Linked DNA regions of Homo sapiens: all the other regions are linked to region 1. The links are contacts of gene promoters, found by promoter capture Hi-C in blood cells and fetal thymus (Javierre and others, 2016). All regions are on one chromosome and are shown on one strand. The core of a region is centred on a gene start or on the middle of the fragment in contact, and the rest is flanking DNA. Distances in the headings are between cores, read along the strand shown. Region 1 holds the start of CPLANE2 (ciliogenesis and planar polarity effector complex subunit 2). Region 2 holds the start of CLCNKB (chloride voltage-gated channel Kb). Region 3 overlaps SZRD1 (SUZ RNA binding domain containing 1).

What was found. The method cuts DNA at HindIII sites, captures the fragments that hold promoters and counts their contacts. A CHiCAGO score of 5 or more calls a contact.
Region 2: a contact is called between the fragment with the promoter of CLCNKB here and the fragment with the promoter of CPLANE2 in region 1, in 16 of 17 cell types (erythroblasts, M0 macrophages, fetal thymus and 13 more). The highest score is 13.9, in erythroblasts.
Region 3: a contact is called between a fragment that was not itself captured here and the fragment with the promoter of CPLANE2 in region 1, in 1 of 17 cell types (endothelial precursors). The highest score is 5.2, in endothelial precursors.

Annotation. Positions count from the first base shown.
Region 1 is chr1:16,235,287-16,239,694 of GRCh38, reverse strand. It overlaps CPLANE2 (ciliogenesis and planar polarity effector complex subunit 2), which reads left to right and starts at 2,512. Exons shown (of 5, transcript NM_030907.4): 1 at 2,512-3,064. The coding sequence starts at 2,953. RefSeq lists a silencer at 2,455-2,634 and an enhancer at 2,475-3,019. The HindIII fragment of the contact is 3,895 bases long and covers 1,714-4,408 here.
Region 2 is chr1:16,041,330-16,045,737 of GRCh38, reverse strand. It overlaps CLCNKB (chloride voltage-gated channel Kb), which reads right to left and starts at 1,956. Exons shown (of 20, transcript NM_000085.5): 1 at 1,858-1,956; 2 at 1,146-1,252; 3 at 52-180. The coding sequence starts at 1,245. The HindIII fragment of the contact is 13,884 bases long and covers 1-4,408 here.
Region 3 is chr1:16,389,706-16,394,113 of GRCh38, reverse strand. SZRD1 (SUZ RNA binding domain containing 1) reads right to left here. Exons shown (of 4, transcript NM_001114600.3): 2 at 2,690-2,739; 3 at 632-886. Among named protein-coding and RNA genes, the nearest start is that of SZRD1, 25 kb to the right of the region's middle. RefSeq lists an enhancer at 190-1,096. The HindIII fragment of the contact is 1,682 bases long and covers 1,495-3,176 here.

The DNA of each region.
Region 1 (4,408 bases), core at 1,263-3,762:
AAAATACAACAACAACAAAAATTAGCCGGACATGGTGGGGCATGCCTATAGTCCCAGCTACCTGGGAGGCTGAGGCAGGGGAATCACTTGAACCTCAGAGGCAGAGGTTGCAGTGAGCCGAGATTGTGCCACTGCACTCCAGCCTGGGCGACAGAGTGAGACTCTGTCTCAAAAAAAAAAAAAGTAGATAGGAGACAAAAGATTGCATTCTTTTGAGTCCTTGATCAGCCTTCCACTGAATACATAATTTTATTTATTCAGCTCTGTCACCCAGGCTGGAGTGCAGTGATATGATTCTGCTCACTGCAACCTCCACCTCCCAGGTTCAAGCGATTCTTCTGCCTCAACCTCCAGAGTAGCTGGGATTACAGGCGCCTGCCATCACAGCCAGATAATTTTTGTATTTTTAGTAGAGACAGGGTTCACCATGTTGGCCAGGCTGGTCTTGAACTCCTGACCTCGGGTGATTTGCCCGCCTCAGCCTCCCAAAGTGCTGGGATTACAGGCGTGAGCCACCGCGCCCAGCCATTTTTTTGTATATTTTTAGGGATAAGGTTTTGCCATGTTACCCAGGCTGGTCTCAAACTCCTGACCTCAAGTGGTCCACCAGCTTCAGCCTCCCAAAGTGCTGGGATTACAGGCGTGAGCCACCGCACATGGCCCCAAGAGGACTTTACATCTTCTCTGGGTTGCAGATTAACAGGCACGTTCATTCTGCCAAGTTGCTTCATTTTCTCACACGCTCACTGAGCCCTCCACGAGCCAAAGATGGGTGGATGTGAAGTCTGGAAATCCAGAAATAATTCAGATCAGAGCCCTGCCACTGAGTGACTCCTGGCCCATGGAGAGAGCTCTGGACAGCTGTGAATCTCCCTGACTGGGCAGATGTGACAGCTGCAGGAATGGGAACCATGTGACCTGGGAGTATGGGCAAAGGATTCCACCTGCAGAATCCTGTAGGAATGGTTATTCATCTGGTTTTTCTGCCTAGCCACAGCGTGAGCAAGTTGAGAGAAAGCACCTTGTCTTACACATCCTCATCCCCTCTCTTAGACATAATGGGCCTTAAAAATCTGTGAGTTCGTAGTCCTCTGGCTGCTTTCTGCTTCCCTAGGAACAGCCCTCCTAGTGGCTAGGGGCAAAGTTTTAAAAACACAAAACCCAAACTGGCAGAACAGATAAGTACTTTAGAGTCAGGTAAGTGTGGGTTCTTTTTTTTTTTTTTTTTTTTTTTTTGACAGGGCCTAGCTCTGTCACTCAGGCTGAAGTGCAGTGGCATGATCTCGGCTCACTGCAACCTCCATTTCCCGGGCTCAAGCAATCCTCTCATCTCAGCCTCCAAGTAGCTGGGACTACAGGCGTGCACTACTGTGCCCGGCTAATTTTTGTATTTTTTTTTTTGTAGAGGCAGGGTCTTACTATGTTGCCCAGGTTGGTCTCAAACTCCTGAGCTTAAGCAATCTGCCCGCCTCAGCTTCCCAAAGTGCTGGGATTACAGGCGTGAGCCACCACACCCAGCCAGCTGTGGGTTCTGAGTCGGTTTCACACTGACTAGCTGTGCGGTGTGACCTCAGACAAGTCACGTTATGTTTCTGAGAGTCTTCGTCAGTACAAGAGGGTAATACTATTTACACAGGTTTGTTTATAGAATTAAATCAGGTGACCCCTGTAAAGTCCCCACTGTCTGGCACTTGGGTGGCCTTAGGTAAAGCTTAACTCCTAAATTATTCCTTTCAAAACAGTGATTTGCCCTACTTGAAGGCATTGCGGAAAGATAATGGTAAAAATTAAATGTAATAGACAAACTCTCAGTAATGACCCACCTGCACTCTTTCCAACCAGTGGGCATTTACTGAGCACCCACCTTCTGGGTAACAGGCCTGGTGTCCAGTGCTGGAACGGTGGAGAGGAGCTCAGAGTTTCAGAGCTGAAAAGTCAGCTCCAGGAGAGCAGGGACTTCTTGTTGGCCACTGTATTCCCAGCTAGGTGCTCAGTATTTGTTGAATGAATGAATGAATGAAAAATACAATCCAGCGGGCCTCTGACTCATTTTTTAAAACTTGAGCCAAGTCCCTTGACCTCTCTGAGCTGGTGTGTGTCCCCATCAGTGAAGCCAGAGATGTTTAAGTCATCTAGAGGTCCTGCCAAGCAGGATTAATAGAGCAATAATATTAATAATAGCAACAATCATAACTAAACATATGGAGCACTGCTATGGAGGGAATAACATGTTACGTCCACGTTATAGAAGAGGAAACTGAGACACAGAGAAGCATGAAAGGCTCCTGGAGGGGGGGTTTCATGATGTTTTGGAAGAAAGACTAGGGATCGGACGGAGTCATAGAGAAGAGGATCCACAACCCAGAGGAAAAGGCCTAGTCCAGAGCCACCGCGCGGCGCAGGCTGCGGACGTTGTAGGAGGGACGAACGCCTCCCGGAACCCGCCCAACCCAACCTCCGGCGTCTCCATGGCAACAACCTCCGCACATGCGCCGCGCGCACCTGCGCCGGAGCTGCCAGCACGCGCAGAAGGCGGACGCAGGCGGGGCGGAAGTGGGCCCGGCGGGCTGGGGCGGCGGGAGTGCGGGTGGGCGTTTAAAGGGGCCTTCGGCACCCAGGTCGGTTCGCCGCCGGGACTGCTGACGGGGAGGGCTAGGTAGCCCTGGGAGTCGGGATCTAGAAGGTAGAGGAGAAGCGGGGCTGTCTGACCCCCGGAGGTGACAAGGGGAGAGGGGCTGTGTGAATACCCTCCATGGGCAGTAATGGGATGACTATCCCCAGGGAGCATTGCGAAGGAGAGAGGCGGCTGAGGGACTGCACTTTCTGGGGCCCCCCGGGAGAGTCAGAGGGCAGTTAAGAGGGATCACAGGCCCGGCTTGGTACTGTCACTCCCCTTCCCACTCCCTGCTCTCAGCATTCTGTCACCTCCCTACCCCGTCGCGGTGCCCAGCCATGGCCAGACCTCCCGTGCCCGGTTCGGTGGTTGTCCCAAACTGGCACGAGAGTGCCGAGGGCAAGGAGTACCTGGCTTGCATTCTGCGCAAGAACCGCCGGCGGGTGTTTGGTAAGTGCCTCCCCCTTTCCTCTAGCCCGCCACTTGTCTTTCCCTGGGGAGAAGAGTGTCACCTGTTGCTCCCTGAGGAGAGCAGAGAGGCAGGGCAGTGAGGGCCTGCTCCACTGCAGTCTTCAGCAGTCTTCAGCCTGGGGGACTGAAAGCCCTAGCTCTGGGACCCCCACACCTAAATCTCCTTAGAGCTAATTCCATCGTCAGAGCCAGGAACATGGAAACAGCAGAAACCTTGCCAGCAACCACTGTCACCAGAGATGCAGTTGATTGAGCACTCCCCTGGTGCCAGGCCCTCTGTTGGGCACGTTACACAGTGCACGCCCATTTAACCTCTCAACAGCACATGGTACAGACTTGGCTAAGATCACACCCCAATAAATAGAGGTGAGCCTCTTCCATGTCCTGCTGTCTCTGGGATGAGACGCTGGTGTTCCCCATGGTGAAACTGACTCACCCAGGCAGGGCCCAGCTGTCAGGCCGGCAGAGGTGCCTGGAATCAGCTGTGGAGCCCAGCTCTGGCCAGGAGAAGCAAGGTGCCAGAAGACTTAAGACCAGAGAGTGAGATAGCTAGAACCAAAATTTGTGAATAAGTCAACTGTTTGTTTGTTTTTTTAAAAGAAATTATATTAAATTCAAAAAATGACCCTCTAGAAGGCTGGGCGCAGTGGCCTGTAATCCCAGCACTTTGGGAGGCCGAGGTGGGCAAATCACCTGAGGTCAGGAGTTCAAGACCAGCCTGGCCAACATGGCGAAACCCCATCTTTACTAAAAATACAAAAATTAGCCGGACGTGGTGGCGGGCACCTGTAATCCCAGCTACTTGGGAGGCTGAGGCAGGAGAATCGCTTGAACACAGAAGGCAGAGGTTGCAGCAACCCTAGATCGAGCCATTGCATTCCATCCTGGGTGACAAGAGTGAAACTCCGTCTCAAAAAAAAAAAAAAAAAAAAGACCCTCTAATATGGCCACTGTCCCTCTAATCCCATGATGGCTGGCAACACTGTATTTGGGGTCACACATACCCAGGCAAGTGACCCAGGCTCCACCACTGCTAGCTGTATGGCTGGGAATAAGTGAACTCTAGCCTCAAGTCCCACCTCTGTAAAATGGGGATAATCACAGTATTTACCCCATAGAGTTACTGGGGAAATTAATAAGGAGGGTGTTTGTAACATACCAAGCAGGTTCTGGCATGCAGTGGGTGTTCACTGAAGGTTGGCTGTTATTGTATTTATTTTGCATTTAGTTGTGTTGAGTGGAAGAGAATTGAGTGAAGGTTGAGCTGATTTTCTGGGAACATCATAGAATCCACTGACCATATTATCTATGCCACAGATAGGA
Region 2 (4,408 bases), core at 707-3,206, 190 kb after region 1:
GAGAGCTCAGAATCCCTTGGCCCAGAGCAGCACCTGCCATGGAGGGGTTACCTCGGACCACACTCTCAACAGCCAAGTCCATGGCACAGCTGACCAGGGCCATGAGCACCCCGAGGGTCATCAGGAAGTACCAGTCCTCGCCCAGGCGGAAGAGCTTCTGCTTCAGCCACTCCAGGCCACCTGGGGCAGGGCATGGGGTCACGGCACAGGGTGGGGCAGGAGGCACAGACAGTCCCATCCTTGGAGGCCTGCTGGGCTTCAGGCAGAGAGGCTGGGGCAGGGGGATGGAGCTTGGTGGTATACTCTGGGGTAGTCCCGAGGGGGCCCTGCCTCACATAAGTGGCCGGGCAGGATTTGTGGGAGGTGACAGTGGTGACACAGTGGGTGCCAGGACTGCTGCCCCTACCAGAAAGCCGTTGACCTGCCGACCCTCCGCATCCCTGCCTGTACTGGGAGGTTCCTGGGGGACAGGGAGTATGGAGGGGGCTGGCAGCTACAGCTTTCACCTGCATCCCCGCAGAGTCCATAGCTTAGAGAGCACCAGGATCTAGCAGACTCCTGCGTGTCCCAGGACCTGTGGCGCCAGGTATCCTCTGGGTCCCCAGCAATGCTCCTGGCCCACTGGCTGCTAGCCCAGCCTGGGAGCTGGCCCTCACTGGCTGTGGGCACCAGCCCCTGGGGTTGCAGTCAGCCTCCTTCTGTGGTCCCTACTTGCTCTGCCCCGTAGCTGAGGGGACAGTCAGGTCTCAAAGTGAACAAAGCACATGGGGCTCCAAGGAAAGGTGCCAAGTGTAGGCTGCCCCAGCCCCTTGCTGTGGCCCCAGCTGTCCCAGCAGCTAACCCCCACGTCCCCTCATTGGCACAGGTAGGTGAGGGAGAGGCCTGGGTGGAAGATGGGCACAGTGACCAGGCCTTGGGCTGTATCTCCCGAAAGGCAGAGGGCAGATGCCCGGCCCATCTGACCCACAGACAGCTGGACAGACAGACCCCTTCCCTCCCTGCCACCCAGGAGACTTTGGGCAGTCATGTCCTGGACAAATGCCAGGAGGAGGGTGGTTCCTGGGCAGGGAGGTGGGGTGGGAGCTGGGCAGGAATGATGTCCTGAGTGGTCCTCCAGGGGGAAGGGAAGAGGACCTGGCTCTCACCTCGGATGCCTCGGCGGATGCGGGGACAGGGGCCCCACAGCTCCTGCAGAGTCACAGGGTTCCCTGAGGAGCCTTCACGCAGCCCCACAAACTCCTCCATCAGGCCCCTGGAGAAGCGGATAGAGGGAGGGACCGCGGTGAGCTGCTGCACGTCCTCGCACTGCCTCTAGGCCCTTCCAGTGCTCTCCCCACCCATGAAGAGGAAAGATTGTGCGTGTGTGTGTGTGTGTGTGTGTATGTGAAGTTATCACACTAGGTCTGTGTGTGCCTTCATCCCTGAGTTTCCGTCACTGAGGGTGTGTGCCTGTGTGTGTCATTGTGTGGGATGGGGGTGGGATTCCTAGGTGTCCCCCTGTGTCCAGCAGCAGACTGGGCACAGGCCGGAGCCCAAGCCCTGCTCAGAGCCCCTTCCCCTTCGGTGGCAGCCGCTCCCACCCTCCTGGGTCACTTGGCGCTTCCACTGCTGGGAGCAGTCTCTGCCCAGGGCTGTGACACTCTCACTGCAGAGTCCCATGGATGGCTCTGACTCTCCCTGTCCACCTATGAGCACCCCTGACCCCAGCTCAGGCCACAGAGGCAGCAAAACCCCAGGCCCAGAAGAAGATCCCACCAGGGCCAAAGTGAGGTGCTGGCTCCTGCCCTTACCACCCCCCCCCCCCCGCCCTGCCTGTCTGGCCCTGGCAGGCCCCAGCATCTTGCAGCGACCCCTCACCTGTCAGTCCTCCTGCTGTGGCTGAGCTGGCCCTCCTCTCACAGAGCCTCCAGCTCCCCTGCACCTGGACAGGTGTGTGTTCCAACAATCAACATCCTCCCCCCTTTCCCGCCTGGGCCCAGGGTTTATGGCGAACACTTAGAATGTCCTTGAAAACCGATCAGAACTGCCCAGGCCGGAGCAGAGCAGAGCAGAGCTGCCAACAGGGAGGGGAACAGGAGCCTCCCCACCCACCATAGCTGCACAGAGGGTGGTGCCCAGCTGTACTCAGGCTCCTGGGTGCTGCTGGACGGGGGCTGGGAAGGGGGAGCTCACGCACACAGCAGGACAGAGAGGGGTCATCTGCCAAGGCTGAGGCTCAGGGTCCAGGGGTCTCAGAGCTGGACATGGAAGGTTTGGAAAAGCACAGAGGGAGAGGGGAGGAGGCTGGGCAGAGAAGGAGAAAGCAGGCCGGCAAAGGTGAGTGGGGCCAGCATGACCACAGCCTCCCTGTGTGCCAGGTAGAGAGTCAGCCTTCCCCTAGATTAATTACCCTGAGTGCCCACGGAAATCCCACGAGGCAGGCAGCGTGATCCCGTTGTAGAGAAATGGTGTCTCAGGGAGGTGGGGCTGCCCGTCTAAGATCACGGAGGCCGAGGCAGCGCCAGGATTCCCAGCCCAGGTTTGCCTGGCTCCAAAGCCCGCAGGCTGTGCCACACGGTCCCATCCTGATGACCCATCTTGTCCAGGGCTGGCGAGGAGGCCGACACCTGGGGCAAGGCAGTGAATTGGGGTCAGGAACTCAGACTTGATCCTGTGTCCAGACCCTCCAGGCTCAGGAAATGCCTCTCAAAGCACACGTCCAAGGGCCAGCGGCTCTGGTGGGGACTTCTGGGTAATTCCACAGAGTTTGTCCCACCCCAACAGAGGATGGCAGCACAGGTGTGAGGGGACATGGCGAGGAACAAGCACGTGCCGTGTGCCTGCAACGTGTCAGAAGCGTCACATCCGCAGCTCAAGTCCTCCTCCCCACACCCTGTGAATGGGGAGAGCCTCGCCATTTTGTAGATGGTCAGAGAGGTGAGTCACTCATCCAAGGTCACACAGCAGAGGCTGAACCCAGCCCCACACTGTGCAGCTCTTCCCCTGCCCAAAGCTCCTCCAGCTCCTGAGGCTGAACCAGGGCAATGGTTTGGGCACAGAACAGAAGAGTTGTGTCTGATGCCACTTTGGGGCAAGATGTTGGGGGCAATTGCCTCCAGTCCTACCCAGACAAAGCCACTCTCTGAATAACATGATGGCCCTTGGATGATTGTTAAAATCTGGGACCCTGGGCCACCCTTTGCCCCTAGATGCCAGGCAAGTCAAATCAAAATTGAAGGTGTGTGTTGTGGGAGGTGGGATGGGGGTTGCCGCTCTGCATGAACCCGAGCCCACCTTCATCTTGGCCACCCTGACCTGTTGACTCTGCACAGCACCAGAACTGGCTGCCCTGTCAACATCCGGATCCCCAGTGTCTGGTCTGGGGCAGCTGCTGGCTACTGTCCCACAGCCGGCACTGCATGTCCACATCCACCCTCACCCCCCAGCCCTGTGTGCCCCAGGAGGCTGAGAAGAGGGCAGCCAGGGGGCGCAGGACCCAATGCAGGTCCCTCCCAAACCCACTGCCTCCACATCAGCCCTAATTTCTCCCCTTCCATATTAGTCGCCTGGCAGCAGTAGCGGGGGCTCAGTAGAGAGACAGCAGGGGAGAACCCAGGGCGGCTCTGTGACCCTAACACCATCACCATCCGGAGCCTCTGTTTTCCTCCTCTGTCAAATGAGCTGAGCCTGAGACCTGGGTCTCTGTCTCATGACAGTGGGGGTCGGGTGCCCAGGACCTGCACAGCCCCCTCGCCTCAGAGCAGCTGAGGACGGGATGGGGGACAGGGCACGCTGAAAGAGACAGGGCAGGTATGGGTGGGAGCGGGGCGGTACAGAGAACCCACATTCAGAGGTCACTGAGTCCCCACACTACTTTGCATCCTGGCAGGTGACATGAAGCAGGGTCCCCTGCCCTGCTTTTATTCCAATGGTTACACCCCCACTGCCAGGTGCCTAGGAGGGGAGGGAGGCTCTGGTTATTCCTGGCTTCCCAGAGGAACTGTGGGGACAGCTGGGGAGCTAGCAGACCCCCCATCTCCCACCCCTTCCCAAGACAGAGGCCTTACCAGCTCACCCCCACAGCCCCTTCCCATGCCTTACCTGGTCCCACTGTCTTCAGTGAGAGGGGAAGGGAGTTTGAAGAGTGAGGAGTGCTGGGGGTTCCTTAGGAACACCAGGCTCCCAGAGTCTGAGGGTGGCTCCAGAAACCCCAAAGGTTCTAGGCAGTCTCTGGCTGGGCCCAGCTCCAGGTGGAGGGGATCTGAGTGTTTCCTCAGTGACCAGGTCCCTTCCCCTTCACTTGGCCACTCCATGCCGGGTGCCTTGGGGTGCCAGCCTAGGTGTACTGGCCTGTGGGCTGAGGACCCACCAAGCACGGGACAGAGGTCGGGGAGGAAGAGACGCCTGCTAAGGTCATCCCGAGAGGCTG
Region 3 (4,408 bases), core at 1,086-3,585, 150 kb before region 1:
CTTAATGAATACTGTTTGATTCGAAAGTGATAAACTTATATGATGCAACCTTTAATACTGCAGAGAAAAAAATGTTAAGAGTAAAAAGGAATTTAGAAAATTCACAAAAACATCACAGTGGGCATACTGGAGACCCAGAAAATATCATCAAAGCACTTATCTGGGGTACTTTCCACTCTGCCAGCCCAGGCTCTCCACATCCTATGCTCATTTACTCACTGAATTGCACAACACCTTGATAAGGTTGGTACTATTATTATCCCATTTTTTCAGATGAGAAAACTAAGGCCCAGAGAGGTCAAGTCGTTCTAAAGAAGAGGTAAGAGGCAGATTTTGACACAAGCTCATCTGTGCCTTCACTCTCTACACAACAGTGCCCCCGGTGACTACCAACCGCAGAGGGAGCATGCCAGCAAACTGCCACCTCCTCCCTGGCAAGGCTTTCAGAGCCCTCTCCAGCCAATGCGGCACAGTGAACTAGTGCCAGCAGGCTGGGATCAGCAAGTGGAGCTGCATGGTTCCTACCCTGACTCTGCTTGCTTCTCACTACTCTACACGCAGCCAGGATGCTCTCCTCTTCCCGGGTGGACTGGGACAGCCATCACTGGCCGGCCCTGCCAGCCACACTCACCTGTCGAGGATGGGTTTCTCCTGCTCCTCCTCGGGGCTGGCGCTGCCCAGGATCCGCTTCCGGGCCTCGGCGTACTCGGCCTCTCGCTGTGCTAGGGACTTGACTGGAAGGGTGGGCCTGCTGGTGGAGTTGGGGCTGCTGACCACACCGTTGCTGGTGGGCCTCTTGAGGATGCGGATCTGTGGAGGGGGCCCCGCGGGAAGGCTATCGTCCTGAATCACAATGGGCACTTTGGGAGGAGATTTGGATTTCCTGCTGACAAAGAGCAAACACAGCTTCACAAATCATGCTCCTGACTAAGGAGGCCCTGTCCATGTCCCACACCCACCTCTCATCACTTTCCTCTCCCTCCCTAATTCTACCCATGCATGATTCTCTGGCCTCTGACCAGACAGCAAAATTTCCACTCCTCAAGAAGGGTGTCCCAAAAAAGTAAGCTTGCGACCAGCTCTGACAGGCCACAGGAACTGCTCCTCAGCCCTAACCCCTGGCCACAGGGGCTGGAACGCCACCTCATTCTGGCACTTCTATCCCCATGTTCACCACAGCCACATCAACCACTATTTGGCCCTGCAGCAAAACAGTTTATGTCCAGAATTGAATGACGTCAGTTAAGATCCCAGCTTCTCTACGCAGATCAGAGTAGGACTGGCTGGTGGGGTGGGAGCCTTTGAACTTGGGGGTCAGCAGTGTTCACTCAGCCAAATCTTCCATCACATGCTCAAACCAGACAAACACTACAAAGGAGCCCACTACGCCATCCCTGCCTGGCATCAAGATTTACCAAGCCACCTTCTAGTGAGAGTGACCTGTGCCTCCCAGAGACAAGCTACACCAGACAACTGAATCCTCTTCAAAAAGCTTCTGAACAGAGAAACCTCCCTTGCCAGGGCTCCCTGGTCTTTTGGACAGCGGCGGGGCTGGAGTGAAGGATGCTCCTAGAAACAGTGCTTGGCAATGCTCAAAAGAAAAGCATTGTCCAAGGCTGGTGGACGCGTACATCAAGGCGATGTGTCCACAGGGAGAGGTGGAATGACAAAAAACAAAGAGGGACAACAACACAGGAAGGGAAAGAAACAAAAGCCACAGGAGGAGACAGGAACCCAGGCAGGAATGACCACCCGACAACAGCCACCAGGACCCTACCCAGAGCAGTCAACCAGCTTCTCTTCAGAACCAAACAAGCCTGCTTCCAGAGCCTTGGCTGTCAGGAGGAGTCGGGATTGGAGGAACTGAGCCAGGGTGGATGGAAACAAGTCTCGGGTAGGACACAAATGGTATGGAACGAGGACTGTAACCCAGGGTTAGCGTGGTTGCTGAGATGAGCAGACAGACAAGGAGCCAGCAATCTGATCAAAGAGGCAGGGAGCCAGGAAAACTAGCGGGCGGGCAGAGCACCCAGAGTTTCCTGGGGAATGACTGTGCAGCCCCGTGAGCAAATCCAGAGGGGCCCTATCCTCCTTCCTGTCCCTTGTACCTATGGAAAACCAACAGGTTCCCTAAGCCCAAAAGCAGAAAGCCGAAGTCAACTTTCACCTACTCTGGAAACACCCTCCTCTGTCGTCTAGGTGGAAAACAAAGCTATTTTTAAAGGTTTTTTCAAGAATTTCCTAGAATGTTTTCTTCCAGGATACCCTCATAATACCCTAGACCACCAAGTCACTGGGGACCCAGAGAAATCATCTGCCCACACTCCTCATGCCACAGAGAAAGAAACTGATGTCCAGATCTGGGAAATGACTTGCCCCAGACCTCAGAGCAACTGGGGCACTGCCAGGCCTAAAACTCAAGTCTTCCAACTTGTCACTTCCTCACATTGCATCAGATGACCTCACACAGGGAGCCCACGAAGGTCAGAGGCAGGTGCAACACCCCAGCCTCAACCCTAAAGCCTCAAGCCACCACGTCCTGGTCTCCAATTTGGAGGGAAGGGTTTGCTGCCCCAGAGCCTGACCTGCTAGGACCTGCTAATCCTAATGGCCAGCTGGAGAACACCACTGACTGCCCGGCTCTCAAACCACAGAGAGCATGAGCCCTCAGACCAGACAGCAGCCTTACCTCTCTTTTTGTGTGATCTTCAGTTTTTTTTCCAACCGTCTGTCTATTTCCTAGAGGAAAAAAATGTATATAAAAAGAGGAAAAAATCTCTCTCAAATAAAAACTTAGTCTTTATTTTTGGAGCTAAGGGCAGTGTCCTTTCTCTAGCCAGGGACATGACTGTGTCCTTCAACATAACAAATGTGGACTAGATTTTGGGGTTTGGGGACCTGATACCCTCTGCAGGTCCATCTCCCTTCTAGCCCCATGGCCGCCATGACAGTTCTAAACCTCATTGTTCAGCTGGGTTCTTTGCATAGCCTCCAACCAGTTTTCTGACCTGTAATCTGTCTTTCACAGAGCCACTCATATCAACTTCTAAACCTAAACTTAGGAACACTTACTCTATTTTATGAAATAAAGAGTTGGAAAAAAAATTAAACATAAATCTGATCATGTCACTTCCCTACTTTAAACCCTTCAACTGCTTGCAGACCTAGTCAAAGCTTCTGAGCATGCCTCACCCATACCTTCTTTTACCTTCTGTCTCTGTTTTGCTATCACTAGCCCCCAGAACTCAGCATGCTGTTCCACCTGCCTGCAATGTCCCCTCCCCTTGCAAACTCCCATTGATCCTGCACAACCCAGCCTGGATGTCTACCTCTCCTTTATAAAGTCTCCTCTGATCCCACCAGCATGGTGCATCACCTGGTCCTCAGAATAAACTCTCCCTTTTACATTCCTTTATGGTCATATCTAATATTTTAATAATGTATTTTTTACTGTTACGGACTTGAACTCTCTGTGACTGGCACCTACCGAAAGGCTTAGAGTAAAACCTATGCCTTATGTTTGTGGCTTTGGAGGTCCATGGTCTACAAGTGAACATGGGGAACCTGAGGAAGAGACAAGACACCTGAGAGTGCAGCAAGTATTTCTCTCAGAACCAGAGCCTGACAGGTCTTGATTAAAACAACACCACCATTTTAGAGAAAAGCAGAGAGAAGAAAGAGGCTGAGAAGGAGGAGCAGGCAGGACTGCCTTCCAACACGCCCTGGCCTCATCTCTTCAAGCCCTGAGCAGGACATTGGGCTCATGGCAGTCTGAGCCCTCAGCCCATCAGCACCAGCATGCCTATGACACCTCCACACACGCGTGTGAGCATCTATATCCAGGACAGGGGTGTGGGGAGAGGCCGTGCACAGAACAAAGACCAAACCCCCAGGCTGCTTGGCTGCCCTACGGCCTTTCTTAGAAAAAGTCCCACTCCCTCAGCCATCCTCAGTGAGGACAAGATCAACTAGCTCTAATGGAGATGGAAGAAACTGTATGCAAAATTCTGTGTTTTTCTAGAGACAAGATCTCTAATGGTGGTTCTCAACCAGATAAGATTCTGTCCCTCAGGGGACACTGGACAATGTCAAGCCATTTTTGGTTGCCACTATTGGGGAAATGCTAAATGTCCTACAGTGTACAGGACAGCCCCACACAAAGAACTATTTAACCCCAAAAGTCAACAGTGCTAAGTCTGGGCAACCTTAATTTATTAGACTGGGATTTTCAAAGAAGTCCATCACTTGCAAAATGTGAAGAACCACAGCCGTAGTGTGGAGACTTTGAAATTTGGTGAGATCTGCCCCATGGCTCAGCATGTAGGCCATTTTCGTAAGTGCTCTGTATGTTCTGAAAATAACTATTCTCAGCCCAGCGCGGTGGCTCACGCCTATAATCCCAGCACTT